Linked DNA regions of Homo sapiens: all the other regions are linked to region 2. Evidence: promoter capture Hi-C in 16 types of primary human blood cells and fetal thymus (Javierre and others, 2016). All regions are on one chromosome and are shown on one strand. The core of a region is centred on a gene start or on the middle of the fragment in contact, and the rest is flanking DNA. Distances in the headings are between cores, read along the strand shown. Region 1 overlaps KCNJ8-AS1 (KCNJ8 antisense RNA 1). Region 2 holds the start of ETNK1 (ethanolamine kinase 1). Region 3 has its middle 53 kb from the start of CMAS. Region 4 overlaps LDHB (lactate dehydrogenase B). Region 5 overlaps CMAS (cytidine monophosphate N-acetylneuraminic acid synthetase). Region 6 overlaps KCNJ8-AS1 (KCNJ8 antisense RNA 1).

Evidence for each region. Contacts are between HindIII fragments. The CHiCAGO score rates a contact against its expected background, and 5 or more counts as called.
Region 1: a fragment that was not itself captured here is called in contact with the fragment with the promoter of ETNK1 in region 2 in 3 of 17 cell types (naive CD4 T cells, total CD4 T cells and non-activated CD4 T cells); the score reaches 9.3 in naive CD4 T cells.
Region 3: a fragment that was not itself captured here is called in contact with the fragment with the promoter of ETNK1 in region 2 in 1 of 17 cell types (megakaryocytes); the score reaches 5.9 in megakaryocytes.
Region 4: a fragment that was not itself captured here is called in contact with the fragment with the promoter of ETNK1 in region 2 in 1 of 17 cell types (activated CD4 T cells); the score reaches 5.1 in activated CD4 T cells.
Region 5: a fragment that was not itself captured here is called in contact with the fragment with the promoter of ETNK1 in region 2 in 10 of 17 cell types (M0 macrophages, M1 macrophages, non-activated CD4 T cells and 7 more); the score reaches 10.9 in M0 macrophages.
Region 6: a fragment that was not itself captured here is called in contact with the fragment with the promoter of ETNK1 in region 2 in 5 of 17 cell types (activated CD4 T cells, total CD4 T cells, non-activated CD4 T cells and 2 more); the score reaches 16.1 in activated CD4 T cells.

Annotation. Positions count from the first base shown.
Region 1 is chr12:21,696,159-21,700,287 of GRCh38, forward strand. The region is part of intron 1 of KCNJ8-AS1 (KCNJ8 antisense RNA 1); the gene reads left to right. Among named protein-coding and RNA genes, the nearest start is that of KCNJ8-AS1, 36 kb to the left of the region's middle. The HindIII fragment of the contact is 2,001 bases long and covers 1,301-3,301 here.
Region 2 is chr12:22,622,950-22,627,296 of GRCh38, forward strand. ETNK1 (ethanolamine kinase 1) reads left to right here and starts at 2,222. Exons shown (of 8, transcript NM_018638.5): 1 at 2,222-2,637. The coding sequence starts at 2,482. ETNK1-DT (ETNK1 divergent transcript) reads right to left here and starts at 2,097. Exons shown (of 4, transcript NR_135030.1): 1 at 1,724-2,097. RefSeq lists enhancers at 1,867-1,936, 2,467-2,636, 2,656-3,345. The HindIII fragment of the contact is 2,136 bases long and covers 1,987-4,122 here.
Region 3 is chr12:22,097,510-22,101,900 of GRCh38, forward strand. No RefSeq gene overlaps it. Among named protein-coding and RNA genes, the nearest start is that of CMAS, 53 kb to the left of the region's middle. RefSeq lists an enhancer at 4,332-4,391. The HindIII fragment of the contact is 1,269 bases long and covers 2,248-3,516 here.
Region 4 is chr12:21,632,108-21,636,135 of GRCh38, forward strand. LDHB (lactate dehydrogenase B) reads right to left here. Exons shown (of 8, transcript NM_002300.8): 8 at 3,235-3,602. The coding sequence ends at 3,435. Among named protein-coding and RNA genes, the nearest start is that of LDHB, 24 kb to the right of the region's middle. The HindIII fragment of the contact is 3,064 bases long and covers 643-3,706 here.
Region 5 is chr12:22,059,039-22,063,322 of GRCh38, forward strand. It overlaps CMAS (cytidine monophosphate N-acetylneuraminic acid synthetase), which reads left to right. Exons shown (of 8, transcript NM_018686.6): 5 at 1,794-1,888; 6 at 2,243-2,414; 7 at 3,243-3,396. Among named protein-coding and RNA genes, the nearest start is that of CMAS, 15 kb to the left of the region's middle. The HindIII fragment of the contact is 1,555 bases long and covers 711-2,265 here.
Region 6 is chr12:21,676,045-21,680,603 of GRCh38, forward strand. All of the region lies in intron 1 of KCNJ8-AS1 (KCNJ8 antisense RNA 1), which reads left to right. Among named protein-coding and RNA genes, the nearest start is that of KCNJ8-AS1, 16 kb to the left of the region's middle. The HindIII fragment of the contact is 1,937 bases long and covers 859-2,795 here.

The sequences.
Region 1 (4,129 bases), core at 1,051-3,550, 930 kb before region 2:
GTGTGTTTTTATGTTAGGAAAAGTCATAGAAGAAGCCAAATTTGGTGTAGGAGCTGAATTAGTTACTGTGATTTACTAGAGATGGACAGGGACTGTGGCAGTCTTTGGCAGGCCTCGAGGAGCAAACTGACAAAGCTGTCATTTTCACATTTAGAATTTTCCATGTGTTCACTGCCAGCCTAGAAACCCCAGGAGCGTGGTGTCCCCTACATTTTCCAATATGTGAAGATGTTCTACCCAGATCTCTCATATGATTGATTCTACAGCCCATATAGAGTCTTGCCCTGTTATTCTAGAGTCACCATTCAGAGTCATCCAATATTCTGAAGAGCTCTTTTCCTTTCATAAAGGCCTTTTCATATCGCTGAAAACAGTTAATCATCAATCTGCATTGAATATCCAGTATATAAAAGAGACTGAAATAATAAACGCCAACTTTTATTGAGTGCTTAACATGTCACAGGCATGATGCTAGTTAAGCTCTTTTCATGGATTATCTCACCTAATTTTCAAAAAGGTTTATTAGTATTTCAAAGGGGCAAAACTGAAGATCTGAAGCCTAGTACTTTTGCAATACTGTAAAGTTGCTAGTGGTAGAATGCTTTCTGATTTTGAAATCCACACTGTTAACCAAGAGACCACTTCATTAGCTAATGAGGGTTCTCTGGAGTTGCTAAAGGAAATGTCATTCATACTTTCTTGAGAGGAATGGATCATATTGCACAGGAAAGGGATGTAAGAACATATATGTATTGTTCTTACATCATATATGTGTGTGTACTAAAGCCCTGTTAGAATGATGAGCAAGGAAGGAATGAGTTTAACCTTTAAATTAGACTGACCTTGCTTCAAAACTTGGTTTCTCCACTCACTCCCAGTGCAGACTTAGATGAGTTATTCATTGCTCTGAGCCAAGTTTTCTCCACGCTTAAATAGGAATAATAATTCTCCAAAGTTTTTTTGAGAATTTGGAAATACTAATATGTGCATAAAATGATTGAAACAGTGTCTGACATATAGAAAGCAAACCCTAAAAAGTAATATATAGATAACCTTTGAGGCATTTTCAAGTCAGTGAATTTTTACGTTTGGCAAGGACCTGGGTAGTTGAAGAGGATAATATGATAGGCAATACAAGTGAAAATAAAAGAAAGCATAAAGACTTGAAAGCAGAAACAAACAAATGGTGTGTGTGTGTGTGCAACGTAAGAAAGTTTGATTTCCTATATAGAGAGTTTAGTATGCTGTGTAATGTGAGATCACATTGCTTAGTGTGTGATAGAAGCTTGGGTGTAATAGAAGCTTAGATATGATGGGAGCTGCTGTGGAATCCCCCTGCAGAGTCAAAGTCTGTCATGTTGAAACTCCACACTGTCAAAAGCAATGGTATCTTGAAGTTTGTCTGATTTAATTATGTTGACAACTTCCTAGGAAAGACACCTTCAGAGCCTGATAGAGGCAAGCAGGTGATGAGATGTCCGTTTTGTATGCTGTGCCCACCACATAGCATGATTGTAAATACTTAGTTCTCTTGAAATAACAACTGTGAAGGAGGAGTGCCATGGGGAGGTGAAACGGATGCAATGATCATTTAACTTTTTCTATGGTTCTTGGGCCTGAAAAGTAGGAACACCTCTATGTTCCTGGAAATTGAGAAAAAAAAAATGTGAATCAGAAGAGATCATATATTCCGTATTGCGACTACTCTGAGTCATATCAGTAACACAAACATTTGATAATCATTTCTTAATTAAACTTCTGAACATTTTTTGACATTTTATAAAACAATGCTTTTCCCAAACTAATTCTATTTTGAGCTATCAGAATGTATATCCTGTTTTCTTGCATTTTCACCACCAGATGGCAGTGATAACCTATTCATTCATTTCTTTCTCTTTTTTTTTTTTTTTTAATCGTTCTCTTGTTTAATGTTATTCTAGAAATGAACCAGTAGCTCTAAATTAAAAGTGATGGCCAAAAATTCCCACTTTATTTTCTACGACAAGTCAGCATGCTAGAGTCACAGTTCCCTTGTGCAAAGAAGTGAACAAAACGTGCATGGAGGGAAGCACAGGAAATATCGTGATTTTGTGTGAGAGCTGGAATGCCACTAAGTAATAAATGACTCTGGTAAATTGTAAAAGACTACCTTGGGTTGTGTATATTAAAAGTATATAAATTTCCGTGTGTGTTTGTGTCAGAGAGAGAGAGGTCTTTGGGTTTGGGGTAGAGGTTGTATAAATGTGACTTCAAAATGTCGCCTGTCATAGGCTACCCTTGTCACATTCTAGGGTTAACCCTGTTAAGGGTGAAAAAGTGAAGTTATCAAAAAATGAAGTGGGCCCTTACACAGCACAGATGTACATGACCTCGGTCTTTACTCCACTTAATCACCACTTCCTTACTCAGTTTGTCTTAATATTGCTTATTTCATTTTTCAGATATTTTCTGCAAGAATAGTTTTCTTGTTTAACTATCCTGGATTTACAAATACATGTTTCAGCTTGGAAAACAAAATTTTTTGTTTAACTTTTTGTATTTCGTAGCAATAGCAATGAAAATCTTCTAAAGATTGGGGGAAAAACCTATAATTTTTTTGGACACACTTCTTTAAACTTTGCTTGATGAGGCTGTTTTTAAATGAAACATTCACATGCAAAATTCAAGAGACCGGGAAAAATAGTCTGAAATTGATAAAGTTGTTTGTCCATTGTATTTTTAGTCAGGATTATCTGGACCATTTTTTAACATCTTGGAGTCGTCAGTTGATCTGGTTTTAGTTTCAGCTGAAAAGGACAATTTTCTGTTCTCCTTCAGTTAACCAAGACGTGGTCACAGACCAGGCAACACAGGTTTTGTCAGTGAGATACCATGGAAAGGAAAAGAGGCCTTATAATTATAATCAATAGGTCTGGGTTTGATGGTGTACTTTCAAAGACCACACATATGGCTGTGGGCATGTTTTTATCATGATCTATAAAATGGGGATAATAACGCCTATATGGGGTTCATTGAGATAAAGTCTATGATCTTTTGGCATGCACGCAATAGTCAATAGAGAGTTTTCTTTCTCTCTCAGTTTACCCCCTGGATAAAAGTAGGTTGATTCTGGCTTAAGTTACAAAGAGGAAAAGCTGTGTCTTCCACATTTGTTTCTTCCAGAAGTTTACTCCATAACCATCCACTTCCATGCCTTTCTTTGGTCTGGAATTTTCCTGATGATAAGCTAATGGGGAAAATAATTTTTTATTCTTATGCTTTTTGCAGCCTTTTAAAACACATAATATGCATCTAGAAGTTAAGCTTCTTTACTTAATTGAATAAGAAACAACATTACAAATGAATGCAACATAGTGAAGATTAAATAAGGTAATTAACAGGTCGGTGCTTTGAAACGTTTATTCTGTTATAGGATTGGAAGGATGTAAGAGCATGCTTTAATATAGAAGGTTTCTAAAAGCCTATGTCTTAAAGGGGCCTCTAAGATCCATCTCCACTAAAGAGCTTCCAACTCTGATATATATTTCTGATATATATTTCTGAGCAGATATGGTAATTGGCCTTTATGTTCTGGAATGACACAGATTTCCAAAGGCAGGCAACATTCAGTCTTTCCTACAGTTTCGGCATTGACTGATTGATATTTTATTTTCAAATAGCTTTATACTTTATTTTTGAAATAGAGGATAATGTTCCTATGGAATCTTGGCATCCTGAAGGAATAACTTGTGTTTTAAAAATTTGCTTGGGGACATTGTGGTGTTTAGGAACTCAAAAACCACATGGCACTTTGACAAACCTGTGCAATCAAACCATATTTGTTCAATGAAAGCTTTGGGTTGCCTTATTCTAGAATGTTGAATGCTCAATAGCTTCCTGACTTTGATGTGGTGAAGTTGGAGAATTTTTCATGTGGGGAGTAGTAATCACTTTCTATCTTGCAATGGTGGTACAGGAATTTGTTTTTATGGGAGATGTTCCCTTTCATCCAGGAGTTTCCCAATGCTAATGTTGGATGAGAAGCTCTGAAATCCAGTGAAGGAACCAAAATGCAGTACAGTTCTTCCCTAGTAGCTAAAGGGGGTTGGTTCCAGTACCCTCCACCCCTTGTGGATAACAAAATCTGTGG
Region 2 (4,347 bases), core at 972-3,471:
GCTTTTAACATTTAGGTTTCTAATCTTCCCCAAATTAATTTTTATGCATAATAAGAGGGAGGGATCAAAATTTTTTTCTCATACAAAAAGCAATTGTATCACTACGGTTCATTGATCAGTCTGGACTTTCTCACTAATTTTTAATGCTACTTTTGTTATATACAAAGTTCTCATATGTGTGTAGGTTTTGTTCTGGGACTTTATTATGTTCTAGTAGTTTATTTGCCCATACCTAAACCAATATATAATACATCCTGGTAGGGTTGGTCCTCCCAATATATTCCCTGATCTTACCTGTCCCTATCCTCCTCTCCCCAATTACAGCGCTTTTCTTGGACCTTAAGTTTTGATATGAATTTCAATGTCATTTTAACAAGTTCAGTAAAAAAACCCTTTTGAGATTTTAACTGGAATTGCATTATATGTACTGATTAGTTCAGGGAAAATTGAGGCCTTTACATTAATCTTTTCTCATTTATGAATATGGTTCATTTCTCCATTAATTTTATCCATGGATCCTGTACATTTTCGGTTACTTTTGTTCTCAGGTACCTAATAGTTTTTTTTTCTTTTCTTCTACTTGTTAATGGACTCTTATTTACCATTACAAACTAGTGCAGTTTGCAACATAATTTTCAATTAAATTGTTTTACAGTTACATAGTTTTAAAATTCTTAAAATGTCAACTGCTTAATAAAAAATACAATTTATACAAAAATACAAGAGATACTATCTGAAATGTGAAAGTAGTAGTATATTTATGATTTCTCCCCAAAGTGGAAGGAACACACACTCTAATGTTTCTTGTAGAAAATTATGCCTAAATCTGGCAGGGCGCGGTGGCTCACGCCTGTAATCCCAGCACTTTGCGAGGCCGAGGTGGGTGGATCACCTGAGGTCAGGAGTTCGAGACCAGCCTGGCCAACATGGTGAAACCCATCTCTACTAAAGATACAAAAATTTGCTGGGCGTGGTGGCACGCGCCGGTAATCCCAGCTACTCGAGAGGCTGAAGCAGGAGAATCCCTTAAACCCGGGAGGCGGAGGTTGCAGTGGGCCAAGATCGCGCCATTGCACTCCAGCCTGGGCGACAGAGTGAGGCTCCGTCTCAAAAACAAAACAAAAAAAAACAGAAACAAAAAACAAACAAAAAAACCACTAAATTTGAAAAATGTTAAATCAACTTCTTTGCTGTATTATAAAGCTCCATTTCCACCCCTCTTTTTAGTTTAGGAAGTTTACCGTTATCGGTGAAGTAATTATTTTGTTAATTACAAAGGTAAGTAGGTTCTTTCTGAACAATCAGGATGTAAACTTAATGCTAGTGAAGTAATTAAACATTTTGAATGTTAATTAAACTCAGTCCAGTTAAGGGTTTTATTTACTACTAACAAACGTATTCACCGTGTGCTAAGTGCTGCAGGGAATCCCAGCCCGTTTTCCTCCATCTAAAAGGAAAATTAGGAGGTCCCAATACTTTACTTGTAGATTTTCCAGTTTCTACCATTCCCTGTAAGGCACTGAGACGCAAGATTTCAAGGCCCACTCGGGGTACCCTGGCATGGACATCGAGTCGTTCTAGCGCTGAGCTTCAAAACTATTCCTTTCCTTCCCTTTCTTCTTCATACCAGACTCTAATCTGTTCTCCCTAGCTTCGAATTATTCACTGTATGGTCGAACATCTTACTCCACAAATAACCTCTGAAGTGTTGCAGTTGTCTTACCCAAATACCTGAACTCAGCTTGTCCCGAGTACTGCGATCCCGCGTACTGCTAATGGGAATATAGTTAACCCAACTAGTATGAGGTCCCCAGTACACAGCAGCTCCAAGATCAAGGCGACCGAGTAACACTGCTTGCCTAGACTCAGGCCAAGTTCGGAGAGTGATCCTGGGGTTATTTTAGAACGTGTCCCTTGCTTCCCAGAAAAATTCAGTCGTTAACTCAAGTCCAGATGCCCAATGACCATTCGGATAAGGTGAGCTAAAGCTTCAATGCCTTGAGGGGCTTGGCAGGGCTCGGGCTCATCCCGGAGAAGCAGCCCCGCTTTCCAGACTAGCAGTTCCCAGGGATGGGTGTGTGCTAATCGCAGGCCAACAAGCCCAGCGCGGTACAGAGGTCCCATTGTGACCGGAGGCGAGAAACCCCGCCTCGGCACCCTGACGCAGCGCAGGACCCGCCCCGCGCGTGACGCCAGCGTCAGGCCAGCCCCGGCATGCTCTGCGGCCGCCCGCGGTCCAGCTCCGACAACAGGAATTTTCTCCGAGAGCGGGCCGGGCTCAGTTCAGCTGCTGTCCAGACCCGGATCGGCAACAGTGCCGCCTCCAGACGTTCTCCTGCCGCTCGCCCGCCCGTCCCAGCGCCCCCAGCCCTCCCGCGAGGGCGCCCCGGGACGGAAGGATCCACCAGTCTGTCGGCGCCCGCCGTTCTCGTGGTCGCCGTCGCCGTCGTCGTGGTGGTAGTCTCCGCCGTCGCCTGGGCCATGGCCAATTACATCCACGTCCCTCCCGGCTCCCCGGAGGTGCCCAAGCTGAACGTCACCGTTCAGGATCAGGAGGAGCATCGCTGCCGGGAGGGGGCCCTGAGCCTCCTGCAACACCTGCGGCCTCACTGGGACCCCCAGGAGGTGACCCTGCAGGTAACGCCCACACCTCAGCTCTGGGTCTCTTATGCCCCTCACGCGGCTCTGGGGGTCCTCACCACAATCGCCTCTGTCCCACGATGACCGAGGAGGACCTAGGGCAACATCTCCTTAAGTCTATTGGGAAGTGACCCTGTATTTCCCCTCACACCTAGGAGGGTCACTCCCCCTTCCCGTCGCAGTTGCTCTTTGAGATTGACCTGAGGCACATTTTCTCTTTCTAGAAGCCGCTGCGTAAGTGACGGACCCATCCACGGGGGGAGATTCCTGCTGATAGTTGCCCCTCCTCCCACTCCCCAGTCCACGGTCACTGCAAAATGAACCTTTCCACTCCCCTTGCACGGGGTCCTCGTCTACCTCCTCCCCTCCCACCAGTAATGCAGTCATTAATCCTCTCTGATCTTTCCTTCCTCTCCCCTCCCCCTGCGATGTGCTTTCATTGATGCCTCACACTGCGTTTTGTCTTCCCAAACCCTAGCGTACTCAATTCCCAAAGTAATGACCACGACCATGCATCGCTAGGTCGGTTCTTAGGCAGCACCACACACATTGTTTTGTTTGAGTCGATATTTCTGAATTATTAAAGTCGTCTTACTGAAATTAATACCTGATACTAGAAGGAGCAGTGGCTTGTGACTGTTTCCTTTTCATGAGACACCGTGTTGATAGAGAAAAAATTGGGAGGAAAAAAATCCCTGAGACTCTAGGAGTTTTCTAATAAGTTGGAAGTTATGATTTCCACTACGTGATTTTTTTTGAATACTAATCTGTTTTTAGCTTTAGTTTCAGGAACTAGATACAAAAATAGATCTCTTTTTCTCCTTTTCCCTTGCAAACAAAAAAAAACAGTAATTTTCAAGATTGGGATATTTGGGATTTGTTCTAAATCTGAGCAATAATGTAAGAACATTCATTTGAATTAGCCAAATCATCTGCCTCGTTTTGATGACTAATTTATTCACCAATATTTGTTGATTTATTTGCTAAATTCTTCGCTAAACTAGCCAGCCACCCACACAAAGATGAATAAAACATGAGCAGTGCCTAGGGCCCAGAACAGTTCCTGACACTTGGGTTTTCATGTGTTAGTTTCAGTTCTTATTACCTAGAAGAGTTTTTAAGCAGATTATTTTAAAGGACCCGTATGTTTTGGAGAAGAAACTTGTTAGACAACAAATTTTGAAATTTAAGGGAGTATTTGTTAGCCGAGAATATAGGAAATAGTGAATCCAAAGTGATTTTTATGTCATTTAAAAAATATATTTCCTTTAAAGGAAATGTGTCTTCCAAATTGAAATTCAGTACTTGTTTAGTTTATCAATTTGTTTGTATTTTATTATATAAGACTCTAAAATTTATTAAGATGATTTGTTTTCTGGCAGTCACTTATACATAAAACATTATTAATTAAAAAGTGCTACTTCCTGGTAAACTCTAGTGTTGGCAGATCAGTTACTTTTAAGCAGTGACTTTAAAGTTTAAAGCTTTGAAGACTGGAATTTCCTTTGATGTATTTGTCTGTAGAATAGTAATAATAGCTACTGTGGGGTTAGTTAAATTATTTTTTTTTTATCTTAGTCGCCCGAACAACCATATTAGGTAGGCACTATCATTTTAGGTGAAACTCAGTGAAGTAAGCCAGGATGTAGGTAAAAAAGGGCAAAATGTAGTGACATTAAACTGTTTTTGCTTGTTGGAAAGTAACTA
Region 3 (4,391 bases), core at 1,632-4,131, 520 kb before region 2:
GGATGTGCTTTATTTCTTTCTCTTGCCTAATTGTTCTGGCCAGGACTTACAATGCTATGTTTAATAACAGTAGTGAGAGAGGGCATCTTGTCTTGTGCCGATTTTCAATGGGAATACTTCCAGCTTTTGCTAACTCAGTATGATGTTGGCTGTAGGTTTGTCATAGATGGCTCTTATTATATTGAGGTATGTTCTTACAATATTTAATTCATTGAGAGGTTTTAAGGGATGTTGAATTTTATCAAAACCCTTTTCTGTATCGAGATAATCATGTGGATTTTGTCTTTAGCTCTGTTTATGTGATGAATCACATTAATTTGCATAGGTTAAACCAACCTTGCATCCCTAGGATAAAGCCTACTTGATCATGGTGGTTTAGGTTTTTGGTGTGCTGCTAGAATCGGTTTGCAAGTATTTTGTTGAGGATTTTTACATCCGTGTTCATTAGGCATATTGGCCTGAAATTTCCTTTTTTTTGTTGGATCTCTGGTAAGTTTTGGTATCAGGGTGATACTGGCCTCACAGAATGAGTTAGGGAGGAATTCTTCCTCCTCAATATTTTGGAATAGTTTTAGTAGGAACAGTACCAGACTTCTTTCTACATCTGGTAGAATTTGGCTGTGGATCTGTCTGGTCCTGGGCTTTTTTGGTTAGTAGGCTGTTTATTACAGATTCAATTTTGGGACTTGTTATTGGTCTGCTCAGGGAATCAACTTCTTCCTGGTTCAGTTTTAGGAGGGTGTATGTGTCCAGGAATTTATAAATCTCTTCTAGGCTTTCTAGTTGGTGTGCATGGAGGTGTTTGTAGCAGTCTCTGATGGTTATTTGTATTTTTGTGGGGTCGTGGTAATATCCCCTTTGTCATTTCTAATTATGTTTATTTGGACCTCCTCTCTTTTCTTCTTTATTAATCTAGCTAGTGGCCAATCTTATTAAATTTTTTCAAAAAGCCTACTCTTGGATTTGATGATCCTTTGAATGTTTTTTTGTGTCTCAATCTCCTTCAGTTCAGCTCCGATTTTCATTATTTCTTCTCTTCTGCTAGTTTTGGGATTGGTTTGTTCTTGCTTCTCTAGTTATTTAGTTGTAATGGTAGGTTGTTAATTTGAGATCTTTCTAACTTTTTGATATGGGCATTCAGTGATATAAATTTCCCTCTTAACGCTGCTTTAGCTGTGTCCCAGAGATTCTGGTATCTTTGTTCTCATTAGTTTCAAAGAATTTCTTGATTTCTCACTTAATTTCATTATTTACCCAAAACTTGTTTAGGAGAAGGTTAATTTCCATGTAATTGCATGGTTTTGAGTGATTTATTTTTAAGTCTTTACTTCTATTTTGTACTGTGGTCTGAGAGTGTGTTTGGTATTATTTCAGTTTCTTTGCATTTGCTGAGGATTGTTTTATGTCCAACTGTGTGGCCAGTTTTAGAATATGTGCCATGTGGTGATGAGAAAAGTGTATATTTTGTTTTTGGGTACAGAGTTCTGTAAAGGTCTATCAGATCCATTGGTCCAATATTGAGTCCAGGTCCTGAAATGTTGTTGTTAATTTTCTGCCTCAATGATCTATCTGATACTGTCAGTGGAGTAAGGAAGTTTTCCACTATTATTGTGTGGAAGTCTAAGTCTCTTTGTAGGCCTCTAAGAACTTGCTTTTTGAATCTGAGTGCTCCTGTATTGGGTGCATATATATTTAGGATAGTTAAGTCTTCTTGTTGAATTGAACCCTTTATGATTACGTAATGCCCTTCTTTGTCTGTTTTGATTTTTGTTGGTTTAAAGTCTGTTTTGCCTGAAATTAAGATTACAACTCATGCTTTTTGCTGGTTTCCATTTGCTTGGTATATTTTCCTCTATCCCTTTATTTTGAGCCTATGGGTGTCATCGTGTATGAGATGGGTCTCTTGAAGACAGCATATCTGGGTTTTGCTTTATTATCCAGCTGACCATTCTGAGCCTTTTAAATGGGGCATTTAGCCTGTTTACCTTCAAGGTTAGTACTGATATGTGTGAATTTGATCTTGTCATTGTGTTGTTATCTGGTTATTGTGCCAGCTTGTTTGTGTGGTTGCTGTATAGTGTCATTGGTCTGTGTCCTTAAGTGTGTTTTTCTATTGGCTGGTAATGGTCTTTCTTTTCCATATTTAGTGCTCCTTTCAAGATCTCTTCTTAGACACATCTGGTGGCAATGAACTCCCTCAGCATTTGCTTATCTGAAAAGGTTCTTCTTTCTTTTTTACTTAGAAGAAGCTTAGTTTGGCTGGATATAATATGCTTGGTTGAAGATTATTTTTTCCTTAAGAATGTTGAATATAGGCCCCCAATCTCTACTGGCTTGTAGTGTTTCTGCTGAGAGGTCTGCTGTTAGCCTGATGGGGTTCCCTTTGTAGGTGACATGCTCTTTCTCTCTAGCTGCCTTTAACATTTTTTCATTTCAACCTTGGAAAATCTGACTGTGTTTTTTGGGGATGATCTTCTTGTATAGAATCTTGCAAGGCTCTCTGTATTTCCAGAATTTGACTCTCAGCCTCTATAGTGAGGTTGGGGACATTTTCATGGATGATATCCTGAAATATGTTTTCCATGTTGTCTGCTTCCTCCCCATCCCTTTTCAGGATGCCAATCATTTTTATATTTGGCATGTTTACATAATCCCACATTTCTTGGAGGTTTATTAATTCCTTTTTATTTTCTTTTAATTTTTGCCTGACTGTCCTATTTCAGAGAACCAGTCTTCAAGTTCTGAGATTCTGGCCGGGCGCGGTGGCTCACGCCTGTAATCCCAGCACTTTGGGAGGCCGAGGCGGGTGGATCATGAGGTCAGGAGATCGAGACCATCCTGGCTAACAAGGTGAAACCCCGTCTCTACTAAAAATACAAAAAATTAGCCGGGCGCGGTGGCGGGTGCCTGTAGTCCCAGCTACTCGGGAGGCTGAGGCAGGAGAATGGCGTGAACCCGGGAAGTGGAGCTTGCAGTGAGCCGAGATTGCGCCACTGCAGTCCGCAGTCCGGCCTGGGCGACAGAGCGAGACTCCGTCTCAAAAAAAAAAAAAAAAAAAAAAAAGTTCTGAGATTCTTTCCTCAGCTTGGTGTATTCTGCTGTTAACACTTGCAACTGCATTGTGAAATTCTTGTAGTGTGTTTTTCAGCTCTGTCAGATCAGTTAGGTTCTTTTTTATGCTGGCTATTTTGTCTGTCAGCTCCTGTATAGTTTTATTGTGGTTCTTATTTTCCTTGGATTGGGGTTTGCCATCCTCCTGAATTTTAATTTTAATTATCTTTGTTTTTCCTATATTCTGAATTCTATTTTTGTCATTTCAGCCAGATCAGTCTGGTTAAGAATCCTTGTTGGAAAATTAGTGTGGTCATTTGGAGGACATATGGCACTCTGGCCATTGAGTTACTGGAGTTCTTGTATTGCCTTCTTTCTCATCTCTGCATGTGGGTGTTCCTTTAACTGCAGCGTAGATTGAGTATAGTCAATAGACTTCTTTTCTGGATGTTTTCACAGGGCTGAAGCTTTGTGCAGGGTTTTTATTTGTGGCTAACTTCTTGTCTTTGGTTTTACAGGGGAGTATGTTACCTAGACATTTTTGGTGTTGAAGCTTTGGGGTATGATCCAGTAGGTGGCGCTTAGGCATAGTGGTCAGTTGGTAGGCTCTTGCTCAGTTGTGTGGTTCCCCTGTATTTCCTCACAGTTGCAGCCATGTTCCCTCTCAATGCTCTGAAATCAAGGGCCCCTCTTCCACTTGAGCGCTGGCTGTAAATTGCGGCTTGGCACTCCCAGGCTGTCCACCAGAGCTCTGGGGTGAACTCAAGGTTTATGTTTCCTCCCCAACTTAGAGGCAGCAGAGGAAGGAACCTTAGCAGTGGTTGTAGCCGATGGTCTTTTATTTGTATCCTAGGGGCTCCACCCCAGAGAAATGCAGGTCAGCAATCGCTCAGTGCAATCAGCCTAGGATGGGTCTGTGCTGTGGGCCCAAGCCTGGAGTTCCCTTTCCTGCACTCCATCTTTCTTGTAGGTGGAACCCCCAGGGGCAACCAAAGCCTCTCTGCCACTGCTTCTGCCTTTGTTACTCTGAGAGTGGCAGGGGTAATACCACTGCAGAGGCAGTGGCAGAGAGGCTTTTGGTTGCCCCTGGGGGTTCCACCTCTGTGAAGCAGAGCTGCTCTTATTGGGAGTGTTCAGCCAGTGGGGAGGGGCAGGTGCAGTGCTGGCACATGAGCTTGGGGCTCTGCTTGTTTGGCAGCAGGGGGTCAATGGTTCACTGGGAGGAGAGACTGGTTTCCTCTCCATATGACTGTGGCATGCTGTAAGCTCAGATGTAGCCCTCAGGTTCTTTGTTTCTTCTTCAGACTGAGGGCAGCAGGGATAGAACCAGTGACGAAGGG
Region 4 (4,028 bases), core at 925-3,424, 990 kb before region 2:
ACTTCACTGTGTCAGAACTCAGATACAACTGGAGGCGTTTATTATATAGCTGTTGGAAGACACTGATGCCAGGGAGTAAAACAGGTCGTAGAAAAGACTACTGATTTGGTGTCAGGATTTGAGAATTCCAGTTCCAGCTCAGCCATGAGAGATGACATCTATCTATCTATCTATCTATCTATCTATCTATCTATCTATCTGTCTTTAAAAATCACCCACTTCTATTTCCCCTTCAATGTCTGGAAATGCCTTTACTTTCTTGTGGGTTTCATCCCTTCCACCACTCTCAATTCATGGGCATTGGCTCCAGAAAAAACAAGTCATCTATCAATGAGAGCAATGCATTGCTCAGGCCATTGACATAGGTTCAATGATGTACATCTTATTCAGTCAGAGCCAGTAAGATGCAGTGAGATATTTTCTGGAGTTTCTAGGAAAGCAGAGGACAGTATTCTATTAGATCTGAACAAGAGAAGATACAATTCTGGAATTGCTATAGACAAGTTGCTACTATATAGAACCTGAGAATTAAATAAATGTACAGAGGAAAAAAGTTAGAGTTGGAGAAAAACTGCATACTTCTGATGACATCGATTGTTTTATCCTTGAATACGGTGTTGGTTAATGTCAGTTCCATTCCTAAGCTTTTCAGCTAGTTGCACCACTAAATTCCACCTTTCTTTGTTTTAGCCACTTTGCAGGAATACTCAGCAATAGATCCACAAAAGTACTTGGGTATCAATTTCTCTTCTGTAAAATAACTTGGACAAAAGTCACTTCCGCTTCTAAAATCATATGAGATCAAAGTACCTTCATGGATAAACTATCAGTGTCTGTCTCATTCAGTACATCGTTTTTGCATTTTGGATATTGACCCATGGAATATCTGGATCCATGTATTGACTAGCCAGGTGTTACTAGGCGTCTGCTCTATTCCTAAGGAATGTTATTAATTCCATTTTTCACGTTTCCCCAGACGGTAAGAAAATACAAGTGTTCCAACTGAATGTGTGAGGATTCAAGTCTTTTTTTTCTTGATTTTATAGCATCTTATTTTGTTATTTATCGTTCAAGTACATGCCCTCAATTAGATAAAAAGTTATCTAACAGGTACTGTGCCATATAGTTGGGAGTATATCATTTAGAATTAATTGGTTAGCTGAGACAGATACCTAAAATAACAGTGATAGCAGTTTATTTCCTCCTAATATAAAAAGCAATTAGGAGGCAGGCAGTCAATAGCTGGTACAGGCAGCTGCATGCAAACTGAAAGCCCAGCCTTCTTCCAGCTCTTGGCTCTGCCATCCCAAGGTTCTGCATTTCTGTCCATGGTCCAAGATAGCTGATACATTTGAGACTGTGGTCTTCCCATTATTTTGGCATTAAAATGTCTTTTCTTTTGTATGATAGTAGAAAATGGTAGTTTTTTCTCCATGTGCTTATTTGGCAAAATGAAAAGTTGGCAAAGTTGTGTTTGTGCTTCTTAACCTACACACGTCTATTCCCCCTTTTAAACAGTTTAAATAATTCTAAACTGATCCATGAAATTCAAGGTTGGAAACTATTGGCTTATTGCAAATTCAACATTCACGTAGAAACTGAAACAATGAAATAGAAGCATATATTAAATTAACCCTCCTCCTTACATCTAGACAGTAACTTTGGAAATATGATATAAAAAAGGAATTTAATAACTGTATCCATCTCCCATTCTGTAATATAGAAATAATAGCACCCTCATAATATGCTGGAGCATTAAAAAATTTCAATATTATTCTAAGAAGATACAAAAATTTGACAGTAAGTTTTTCTGCATTATAGTACACTGTGCTTAAGAGAAAGGATTTTTTTCCCCCCAAGACGGGGTCTCGCTCTGTTGCCAGGCTGGAGTGCAATGGTGCAATCTCAGCTCACTGCAACCTTTGTCTCCTGGGTTCGAGAGATTCTCCTTAGCCTCCCGAGTAGCTGGGACTACAGGGGCATGCCCCCACGCCCAGCTCATTTTTGTAATTCTATTAGAGATGGGGTTTCACATGTTGGCCAGGATGGTCTCGATCTCTTGACCTCTTGATCCACCCACCTCTGCCTCCCAAAGTGCTGGGATTACAGGCATGAGCCACTGCGCCCAGCAAAGAGAAAGGATTTTAAAGCTAATTGCCTAGGTTGAATCCTGATTCTGTTATTTGGTGGCTATTACCTGTGTGCCTCTTTATGTCTCAGTTTCCTCATCTGTAAAATGAGGATACATACTTTAGAGCAGTGGTTCTCAATCAAGGGTGATTCTCCTCACCCCTTCCCAGGGGATATTTGGCAAGGTCTGCAGACATGTTTGGCTACACCTTGTCGGCAGCGGTGTGTGACTGGCATTGGTTGGGTAGATGCTGCTAAACAGCCTACAATGCGCAGTTCAGCCCCCACTACATAGAAACATTCAACCCAAAAGGTCAATAGTGTTGAGGTGAAGAAACACTACCTTATAGGATAGTTGGGATGATTTAGCTAAGTTAACATCTATGAAGCACTTGGAACAGTAAGCACTACTTAAATGTTAGCTACCATGATGACCAAGCTATGTGCTAAGAGTTTTACATAATTTTCTCATTTAAACAACCCATATTGAAGAGGTGTTGTTATCATCACTGTTTTATAGGTGAGGAAAATGAGAATTAGGAGTGATTAAGTAGTTAACTTGACTAAGATCACAGTTAATCAACGATAAGGCCAGCACTCAAGTCCAGGTTTATATGACACCAAAACTCATGTTTTAAACACTACCTAAATTGACCCCTACATATGACATGTAAATTTGGAACTCTTTGTTAAAGGAAGTCTACCTAAGTTTCCCTGTAAATTCACATGTTATGCTATCTCCAAGTAGACTCAATCTGAATAATCCAGACCAAACTTTCATTTTCCTTCATTATTAAATAGAATTCTAACAAAGTTTCCATTTTAGGGGTTCTTCCTTTTAAAACGGGCTTCCTTTGTAAATGTCATATACATTGACATCCGTTACAACTTCTTCAGTTATAACCTTAAAAAGATAATCATATTCTCAGGACAACAACAACAAACCGTGGCACCTGTTGCAAAAAAGAATTTTTGTCTCATCCAGAGGGAGGAGTGTAGATGATGTTGGAATTTAGGGACATTTATGACGTGTGGTAAGAATGACTTGGCAGACTGACTGAAATCTTTCAGGAATCATTAAGGAAGGAATCCCAGAAACAGAAGCACACTACAATAGTTAATTTTATTTGTTCAAGAGCTCAGATTGCAAGCATTAAACCAAGCATAGGCTTTGATTCTGTGAGCCCAAATTCACATATTGAAGAAGATCAAAGCAAACTGTGATCCATGTACATGGATGAAAACTAAAGGCTCGAGTTAATCACATTGTAGTTTTTAAATTTCTACAGCCTAGAGCTCACTAGTCACAGGTCTTTTAGGTCCTTCTGGATGTCCCACAGGGTATCTGCACTTTTCTTGAGCTGAGCAACCTCATCATCCTTTAGCTTCTGGTTGATAACGCTGGTTAATCCCCGGGCATTGAGGATACATGGAAGGCTCAGGAAGACTTCATTCTCAATGCCATACATCCCCTGCCAGAACAACAAAGCATCGAGATTAAGACATGAAACTGTAAGTAAAAATGATCAAAGACAGGAGGCTGAGGTGGGAGGACTGTTTGAGCCCAGGAGTTTGAAGCTTCAGTGAGCTATGACAGCGGTACTACTCTCCAGCCTGGGTGACAGAGCAAGAACTAATCTCTAAAGGGGGGAAAAAAGAGAATAATCAAAGGTCCGATGTTCCAACAGAAAGAATTGTAGAAAACTTGATAGGCCTGAACTCATTCCCTAATCTAATTTTCATCACTTACAGGTCCACATTTCCCCAATACTTATGTTTTGAATTAGGTTTTATACATAGAATATGCAAACATACACTATGAGAAAATTAGATATTTGTAAGTAACAAGTACTTATTTAATTTTATTATATACGTATTTTATTGAACACTGCTCTATT
Region 5 (4,284 bases), core at 238-2,737, 560 kb before region 2:
TTGAATAACTTCTATTGCTTTAAAAAGACAAATAATTTCATAGAGGTGAAAAGAGTTACAACCTGGGTGTCAGGAAACCCGGAATCTTTTTATATATATATATATATATATTTTTTTTTTTTTTTATTATACTTTAAGTCAACTGCCTCTTACTATGTAAGCTTGAATATGTATCATTTTATCTGTCCTGACTCTCATTTTCAAATAACAGATTTAATGTCTCTCTCATTTTAGAGCCTGCAACATGGTTGCATCATATATTTCTTAACTTGTTAATTTTAGTTATCATTATTATTTATTATTTACTGTGTACTTCGGAGTAGGTGAAACACTTTGCATATGTTATCTTATGTAATCTGCATAGCGAATGAATGAAGTGGACATTTCTACCCAGTTTTACAGAGGAGGAAAACTGCCTCACTGAAATATGAAGTAATTGACTCAAGGCAAAAACAGCTAATAAATGGTACTGTCAGGATTTGGATTCAGGTTCTTATGTTACTCAAGAAATAGCGGTTTTAAAGAGAGAGAGAGAAACCTCTCCATTGTGTAATAAAAATTCTAATGGGACTATTATTCTGAGCAAAAGAGAGAAAAACATTTTTACAAATCTTCTGGTCAATGTGTAGGCAAACTATAGACTAGCTGTTTAGTTAAATTTAAGTGTTCAGAAAAATTGGATTTGACACACATAGATACTACCATTTTTAAGCTTTTTTCTAAGGAGGACCATGATTAACCCATTCCTAAAGTGTGGAGAAAAATGTTTCTCATTAAAACAAGGTTTATGAAGAGACTGACAATTCTGAAAAAAAAAATGAAATTGAAATTGTCCAGTAATTGATCTTGTCATTCAAATAATTACTATCAGAAGAAAGACCCTTTCTCTTGCTGACCCTTGCCTAGAATCAAGAGACTGCCCTTGCCTTTGCCTGCATGTGACTTGGATGACTATTAGTCATTTTCATCAGTAGCTCAGAGATCTAAGAAAACTCTGTACAACAGATGCTACAGTTATTTTTCCTCCCCTGTGTTGCCTGTTAGTTGCAAATTAGAACAGAAGTTCCAAAAACCTTAATACTGCTTTTGGATGATGACAGGAGAGACTTCTTGAAAAAAAGGAGGATATGATTAAGGGATTTCCACAAAATCCCTTGTGGTCAGAAACCTGGAGGATGTAATATTTCTGCTTTTTTCAATATTAAAATAGAAATTTTCTTAAATAGGGAACTTGAACTGTTTAGATAGAATTTGAAAAATGTTAAGGTTATTTCTTTTGTGTGAGCTTTCTCCTTAAAAAAAAAAAAAAAAAAAAAAAAAAAGCTGGGCGTGGTGGCTGAAGCATGTCATCCCAGCACTTTGAGAGGCCAGCTTGAGGCCTCAAGAGGATAGCTTGAGGCCAGGTTTCCAAGACCAGCCTTGGCAACATAGCAAGATCTTATATCTACAAAAAACTTTTTAAAAATTTAGCCGGACATGGTGCTGTATACCTGTAGTACCAGATCCTTAGGAGGCTGAGGTGGGAGGATTGCTTGAGCCTAAGATTTCAAGGTTATAATGAGCTATGATTGCACCATTGCACTCCAGCCTGGGAGGCAGAGTGAAACCCTGACTCGAAAAAATAAAAAAGTAAAAATAAATTTAAAAATCATTTTTATGTGACTGATTTTTACTGGGTTATTCATTTTTCTCAGTACTGTAGAAATGAATTCATTGTTCTGTATTATAATAAAGTTTTGATATATGTGAATGAATATTAAAAACAGTATTCATGACATTTATACTACCTTTAGGGTGGAAAAATGGCATACTACGAAATGCGAGCTGAACATAGTGTGGATATAGATGTGGATATTGATTGGCCTATTGCAGAGCAAAGAGTATTAAGGTAAAAACAAATAAACCTTTATAACCTTTGTACTAAATCTTAATAATTATATTTCTAGATACTGATTTCTGATACTTCAGACATCTTAGGATCTTTGTAATTACTTTGTTCATGTGAGGAAGACATGTAAAATATGTGTTTACATGGCTTCAATAAAGTGAGAAACATTATCTGGCTAGACCACACTACTTTTACTTACTGTACTATATGTTAAAATATATATGTGAAGTAAATTTGGAGAGTAATGTTTGAATAATTGAATGGAGGGTGACATTTCATGTATTGGTTTAGCCAGATGAGAGGGAGTGATTAGTACTGCACTTGTACTCAAAGGTCTATTTTGGTTTCTTTTAGATATGGCTATTTTGGCAAAGAGAAGCTTAAGGAAATAAAACTTTTGGTTTGCAATATTGATGGATGTCTCACCAATGGCCACATTTATGTATCAGGAGACCAAAAAGAAATAATATCTTATGATGTAAAAGATGCTATTGGGATAAGTTTATTAAAGAAAAGTGGTATTGAGGTATGTGCTCCCTGAATATAGCAGTATTTTATAATATTTTGATTCAGGGTCAAAGAACATGCAAGGAATTAAGAGATTTAAATTTTTAGTATTAACTCTTAAAATATCTGAAATTTGGCCTTCATACGCCTAGAAAATTATTATACTATTTAGTTTTAGATGAGTAGAATTAGGAATTTGTTAATCAGCAAATAATATTTCTTGTTTATTCAGTAAATATAAACATAACTACTTTTAAATGGGAGCTATCTAATGTTTCCCAAAGGATCTTGCAGCAAGAAAGATTCCCTAGATAATAGGTGTACCATTTTAGAAAAGGACGATATCCTGTGGATTTTTAAAATCTAGCTTATTCTTATGAATGACATTTTTGATTCAAAATAACTTAACGTTTAAGTGTATTTTTTTAAATGAAAGCTAGCTAAGATAATTATAATTTACCAGAAATCCTAAATATGTATTGCTAAGCAGCACAAGAGAGAGGTTATAGACTTTCCTCTGGATAAATTGAATTATAGGAGAATCTTAGAGTAGTATCAGACAATATATGTTGTAATTTTTACCTGTAGATAGAATCCTTTCTATTGTAGAAAATAAAATACTGTGTCTCACCTTTATTGGGCTATGAGAAATAAAATGAGCTTTGTTTTAAAGCATCATGATTTTAATTCGACAGTCAGTTTTCTTACTTGGACCTTCAGAAAGTCAAAAGATGACTCGTTTGTGATTTGGACTGTCTACAAGGTCAATTATTATGAAAGATTTCTGTTTTCTTCACTTTTTAATTTTTCCCTTCTTCCTCCAATCCTTTTTTTTTTTTTTTTTAAGGTGAGGCTAATCTCAGAAAGGGCCTGTTCAAAGCAGACGCTGTCTTCTTTAAAACTGGATTGCAAAATGGAAGTCAGTGTATCAGACAAGCTAGCAGTTGTAGATGAATGGAGAAAAGAAATGGGCCTGTGCTGGAAAGAAGTGGCATATCTTGGTTGGTATCTTTTTATTCACCCATAGTAAAATGGACCAGGAATTAATTATTTACTTATTTTTAAAGAAATGACAAAGCACATCCTCCAAATGGGTATGATTGTAGGGAAATAGGAACTCTTTTAACAAACACTGCTGATCAAACTGTTAAACTGGGACAGTCTTTCTGGAGGTTAGTTTGATAATAGGTATCAAATGTAGAATGATTATTAGCACAAGCTGTGAAGTCAGACTGTACCACTGATTAGCCAGTTGTGATAAGATGAATGTTGTTTCCTCATCTGTAAACTGGAGATATCGAGAGTACCTATTACCGTAGGGCTCTGGAAGGGATTAATAAAATAATATGAGTAAAGCACTTAGCAGAATTTCTAGTACATATGAATTACACTCTGAATAGTTTTTGCTGCTAATTGAATGTACATACTTTTTCCTCCAAATTCCAATTCCAGGAAAGAAATGAGACAAATGGGCCAATAGTGAAGTTAAAAGAACCCACTTAAATGTCCTGTGAAAAATAGAATATCCCTAAAAAGGATTACTATGCAACCATTACAAACAGTGCTGTGACCTGTATTTATTTGCATGATCAAATATAACAATGTTTTTCACTTGGATATTAAGCAATACACTTACTTACCAGGTACCTATGATGATACGCAGCATGGAACTGGTTGTGGGAACTGTAGGCTTTCTGCTTGCAGAGCTTACAGTCTGATGATGTCAACATTTTAAAATTGATAAGTTATTAAGATGCATAATAACTATAAATCATGTATGAAAGCAGTATTTACAAGGGTAATATGAGCCTCAAAATAAGAAGCACAGGAAAAACTTTGGGAGCATGTGATCTAGAGACTTCAGGAATAACCCTTAAACCACACATGAA
Region 6 (4,559 bases), core at 577-3,076, 950 kb before region 2:
ATACTTTTTTTTTTCATCTCACTGAACTACTGATACTTTCTCTTTTCAGTATTCACAATACTGGCCTTTTTAGTGCATATCAGTGTAATTTAAAGAGTAGAGTGTAAAATTTTCTCTTCCTTTGATTTTGAAAATCTACTGCTATTAAATCTGCCGTTAGGGTGACCCTAACTTAGACTTCCTGGGTTTGGTTATTAGCTCTTCTTGCATCTGTCCTAAATATTGGTGGTTCCTAGGATTTAGTGTGATGCCAGCATCTCACCCACAGTCTATGGTGCTTGAGCTATTACACCATTCCAGTGGCATCAACAGTTTGTTACCCTTGATGGCTACCACCTGACCTTTTCTCCTGAGTCTCAGACCTCTATTTTAGCTATCTTCTGGATACATTTGCCTGGAATCCTTACAGGCACCTTAGACTCAGCCTGTCTCTGAAGAAGCACCTCTACATGCTATTTCTTCCTTATGGCAGCTGTCAAATATTGAGAAATATTTCTCTGAATGTATGTCTTAAAATGTAACAAAAGATGTCATTTATTTTTTAATATGCCTAGACTCTGTGTGAAAGGTTAATGAATACTACAAATGGTTGCTTCTGGGGAGGAAGAAAGGTTACTTTGTGTTGTTTATCTTTTGATATCTTTTAAATTTTATGCCACAGACAGGTACACTTCTTTATACAACGATAATAGTGTAATGAAAAGGAAAGGGAAATATTTATCATAAAAATTCACATACCAAAAACTGACCACTTGAGAACTCACCTATAAGGGAACTGGCCCATTTCCTTTCAAAGTATACTTTGCTGAAAGTGAGACAGAAGATAATTTATTCATGAGTACTTGCTCCTTTTAAACAAGCTTGTTCAAAGGCTGTGGTATTGTTTCAAGTTCTCTTGAACACAAAGTCAAGGGTTGTGAACTTTAAGCCACCTGAATTTAAATACTGAGTGCATGTATCACACGCATATGTGCACTGTTATTCATTCAAAAACATTTCTCAGTGCCAGGCACTGAGTTAAGATCTGAGGACACAGAATTAAATAACTCAGAGTTCCTGTACTCAAATCGCTCACAGTTTAGAGGCCCTATTGATACGGAAGGCCAGCAGGGAAGTGCTAGGTAGAGGAGGGCTATGGTCCCCGGCTAGGGTTCCGTTCCCGGCTAGGGTTCCATCCCCAGGCCTGCGCCCACAGACCTAGGTGAGGACAGGCATTTATGTTTTCCTGCCCAAATGTTGCATTTCCCAAGACCACCCTGGCCGGCCACGTCCCCATCCTGTGCCTATAAAACCCCCTGAGACCCTACCAGGCAGAGACACAAGCAGCTGGACGTCAAGAGGAGCACACTGGCGGAGGAACACACAAGCAGCTGGACGTCGAGAGCACATCGACAGGCACCAGCAGGCCATCGACAGGTGGAACAACGTGGGGTTTGGACGGGGTGGTCAGAGGAGAGCCCGGCTGCTGAGTGACCTGACTCCAACAGGAAAACCATCTTCCTACTCTGTCTCCCTTCTGGCTCCCCCATCTGCTGAGAGCTACTTCCACTCAATAAAACCTTGCATTCATTCTCCAAGCCCACGTGAGATCCAATTCTTCGGGTACACCAAGGCAAGAAACCCCAGGGTACAGAAAGCCTTCTGTCCTTGAGATAAGGCAGGGAGTCTAATTGAGCTAACGCAGGCTGCCTACAGATGGCTAAAATAAAAGAGCACCTGAAAAAGTGAGCCACACCCCCATCTCATGCCCTGCATGGGGGACAAGGGAACTTTTCCGGTTTCAACATGAAATGATGTGTTATTGTGCAGGCGATATCTGGGGCATCTGGCCTTGCTGTGAACAGAAAGGGTTTAGGCAGCCAGGTGAGGCTTTCTGAAAGACAGGGTCTGTGCTCTTAAGGTGGAGCTGAATTAGGAGAGAGAGGAGGTGAGCAGGAGCAAAAACACTGAGATCTGGAATGCCGAACTGTAAACTAGGGAGAGGAGCAATTTGGAGTTGTCAGAGCTTGTGTGAGGTAGCTAATGATGACTTTAGATGCGTCATCTTCCTAACTGAATTCAAGAACTCTGGCTGTGTGTGTGTGGTGGGTGTGTGTGTTATGTGTTTAAACCAGGGAATGTCTTATGTGCCTAATATTTTTATTTCCTGAAGAGTTTTAGTTTAACTTTTGCACTGCCTAAAGTCATGTCAATTGATGTAAGTCTTTCTAACCTTTGAGTAAACCCATAAAACCTCTGAATTTTATATAAAATTGTGCGTATATGCATGTGGACATTTTCCCAGGGTGAGAGTCCAGATAGCCTCATCAGTGGTTTCCCAAAAAGGATCTCTCTCTCTCTCTTTCTTTCTTTCTCTTTCCCTCTCTCTCTTTCTTGCTTTCTTTCTCTCTCTCACACACACACATGTGCGTGTGCACACAAACTCAAGACATGGACACTTCATTAGTTATAAACTTTTAAAATACAGATAACTCTGGAAGGATTAAAAAAACCTCTTATTTATTCCAGCCATTCCCAAACATTGAGCATTCCACTGCCAATGCATGAGAAACACTTTACCCATCTGAAGGGTAATACATTTACCAGCTGAATACATTTCTGGTGGCTTCATATTGGTTGATTATTCCAGGACGCATAGACTACACTATTTTTATACCTAGTAGCTATTGTACAAATTCATATAAACCCTTGGATTAAAGGTGTTTAGGATATAGAGCTATATCATTCCATGGAATCCTTCTGTCATTTTTACTGAGCCACAAAGTCCTCCCAGAAGCTGGGGAGTTTACTGTGTAAGCTTTCCTCATCTATGTGTGGGCTGTATAAACACAGCCTGTTAGCATGTATTTGAAAGTAAGTAGGTAATCTTGGGGGAAAACTATACTGCATAAATTGGGTTAGAAATGTATTTCCTTTCTTCCTAAACCACACTTAGTTTCTTTCAATGCTGTTTTTTTAAAGTCCTTTTAGTTTGTTTGAAAAATAAGTTACAGAACTATTTCTAACAGAAGATTGATTTTTTCTGCCTGTCACGATGTACCTACAAGGAAAGGGAAATGAGAATGTGTGTGAGACACAAACACATTATCTGAGCAATGATAAGCATAGTCATTTCCTAAATTAACTGACAGTTATGTTCTTCCTTTCCCCAGCTAGTTAATTATGTCAGAGCATTTCAAGTTTATTATGACTCTGGCAATGAAACTGACAGGAAGAAAATAATACAATGGATGAGTTTAATTCTGAGAGATACCATACAGAAAAGAAAACATAATGGACTTTGTCTTAATGAACTGACAACTTTCTCTTCTTTGGTAAAATCTTCCTTCTTGCTTACCTATACTTATGACACATGTTCAACTGAAAATTGCAAGATAAACATATACAACATGTACATTATGGGAAAATTGATTTTATACATTCCAAGAAAATACACAGTTGCAAAAGAAGAACACAGAAGCAGTCAAGGAATGATGCCTAGGGAATGTTTCGTAAAAAGTATTTTGAAGCAAGGTGTGTACATGGATTGAAAAAGAGTAAAGCAAGAAATTTTTTTAAATGGGAGAATGAGTGTAATGGATGGAAGTGGGAACAACAGTGATGATCACAGAAGGTATATGGTTTGCTAAACAGGACTGAGGGATGAGTGTTGCAGAGCAGAGAGAAATGCTGAATGTGGAATAGTTTGCAAGAGGTTTTAACTGTTAGGAAAATGTGGCAAACTGTTCTGTTTGTTTCTAGGCCAAGCATATAATGTAAGCCTTTTGAACGATTCCTGTGCATTGTCAACAGAGCCTGACCCTGTATTTCACATATTTTCTAGATATTTAAGAAACAATACAAAATAACAGCCATTTGAATACTGCTCTGAGGCTTAGGCCACAAAATTCCAGGGAAGGAACTGATATTTGGAACAACATCAAAGACCTTACACAATTTCCAAAGTAAGATTAACTAAATTTACTGTAATTTATTGAAACCACTGTTCCATATCTGCAAGTTAAAGTGAACCTCAAATTAAACAATTATAAGAAAAAGGTAATGTTTTAGCTCTTGAAACTTTCCAAGGACAATGAATAAAATAACTGGAAATTCAAGTTTGGGCCGAAGTTTAAAGACTTTTGTTTGGGCCGGGCGCGGTGGCTCACGCTTGTAATCCCAGCACTTTGGGAGGCGAGGCGGGCGGATCACGAGGTCAGGAGATCGAGACCATCCTGGCTAACACGGTGAAACCCCGTCTCTACTAAAAAAAATACAAAAAAATTAGCCGGGCGTGATGGTGGGCGCCTGTAGTCCTAGCTAGTCGGGAGGCTGAGGCAGGAGAATGGCGTGAACCCGGGAGGCGGAGCTTGCAGTGAGCTGAGATTGCGCCACTGCACTCCCGCCTGGGCCACAGAGCGAGACTCCGTCTCAAAAAAAAAAAAAAAAAGACTTTTGACACCCAATCTCTCTTTGCAGCAATAGCTGCCAAAGTTGTGACTACCAGTAATGTTCTTAAATACTGCCACCTGCTGGAAGTTCTCTAGAAATACTGTGCACAATGTTAAATGAGTGCTTCC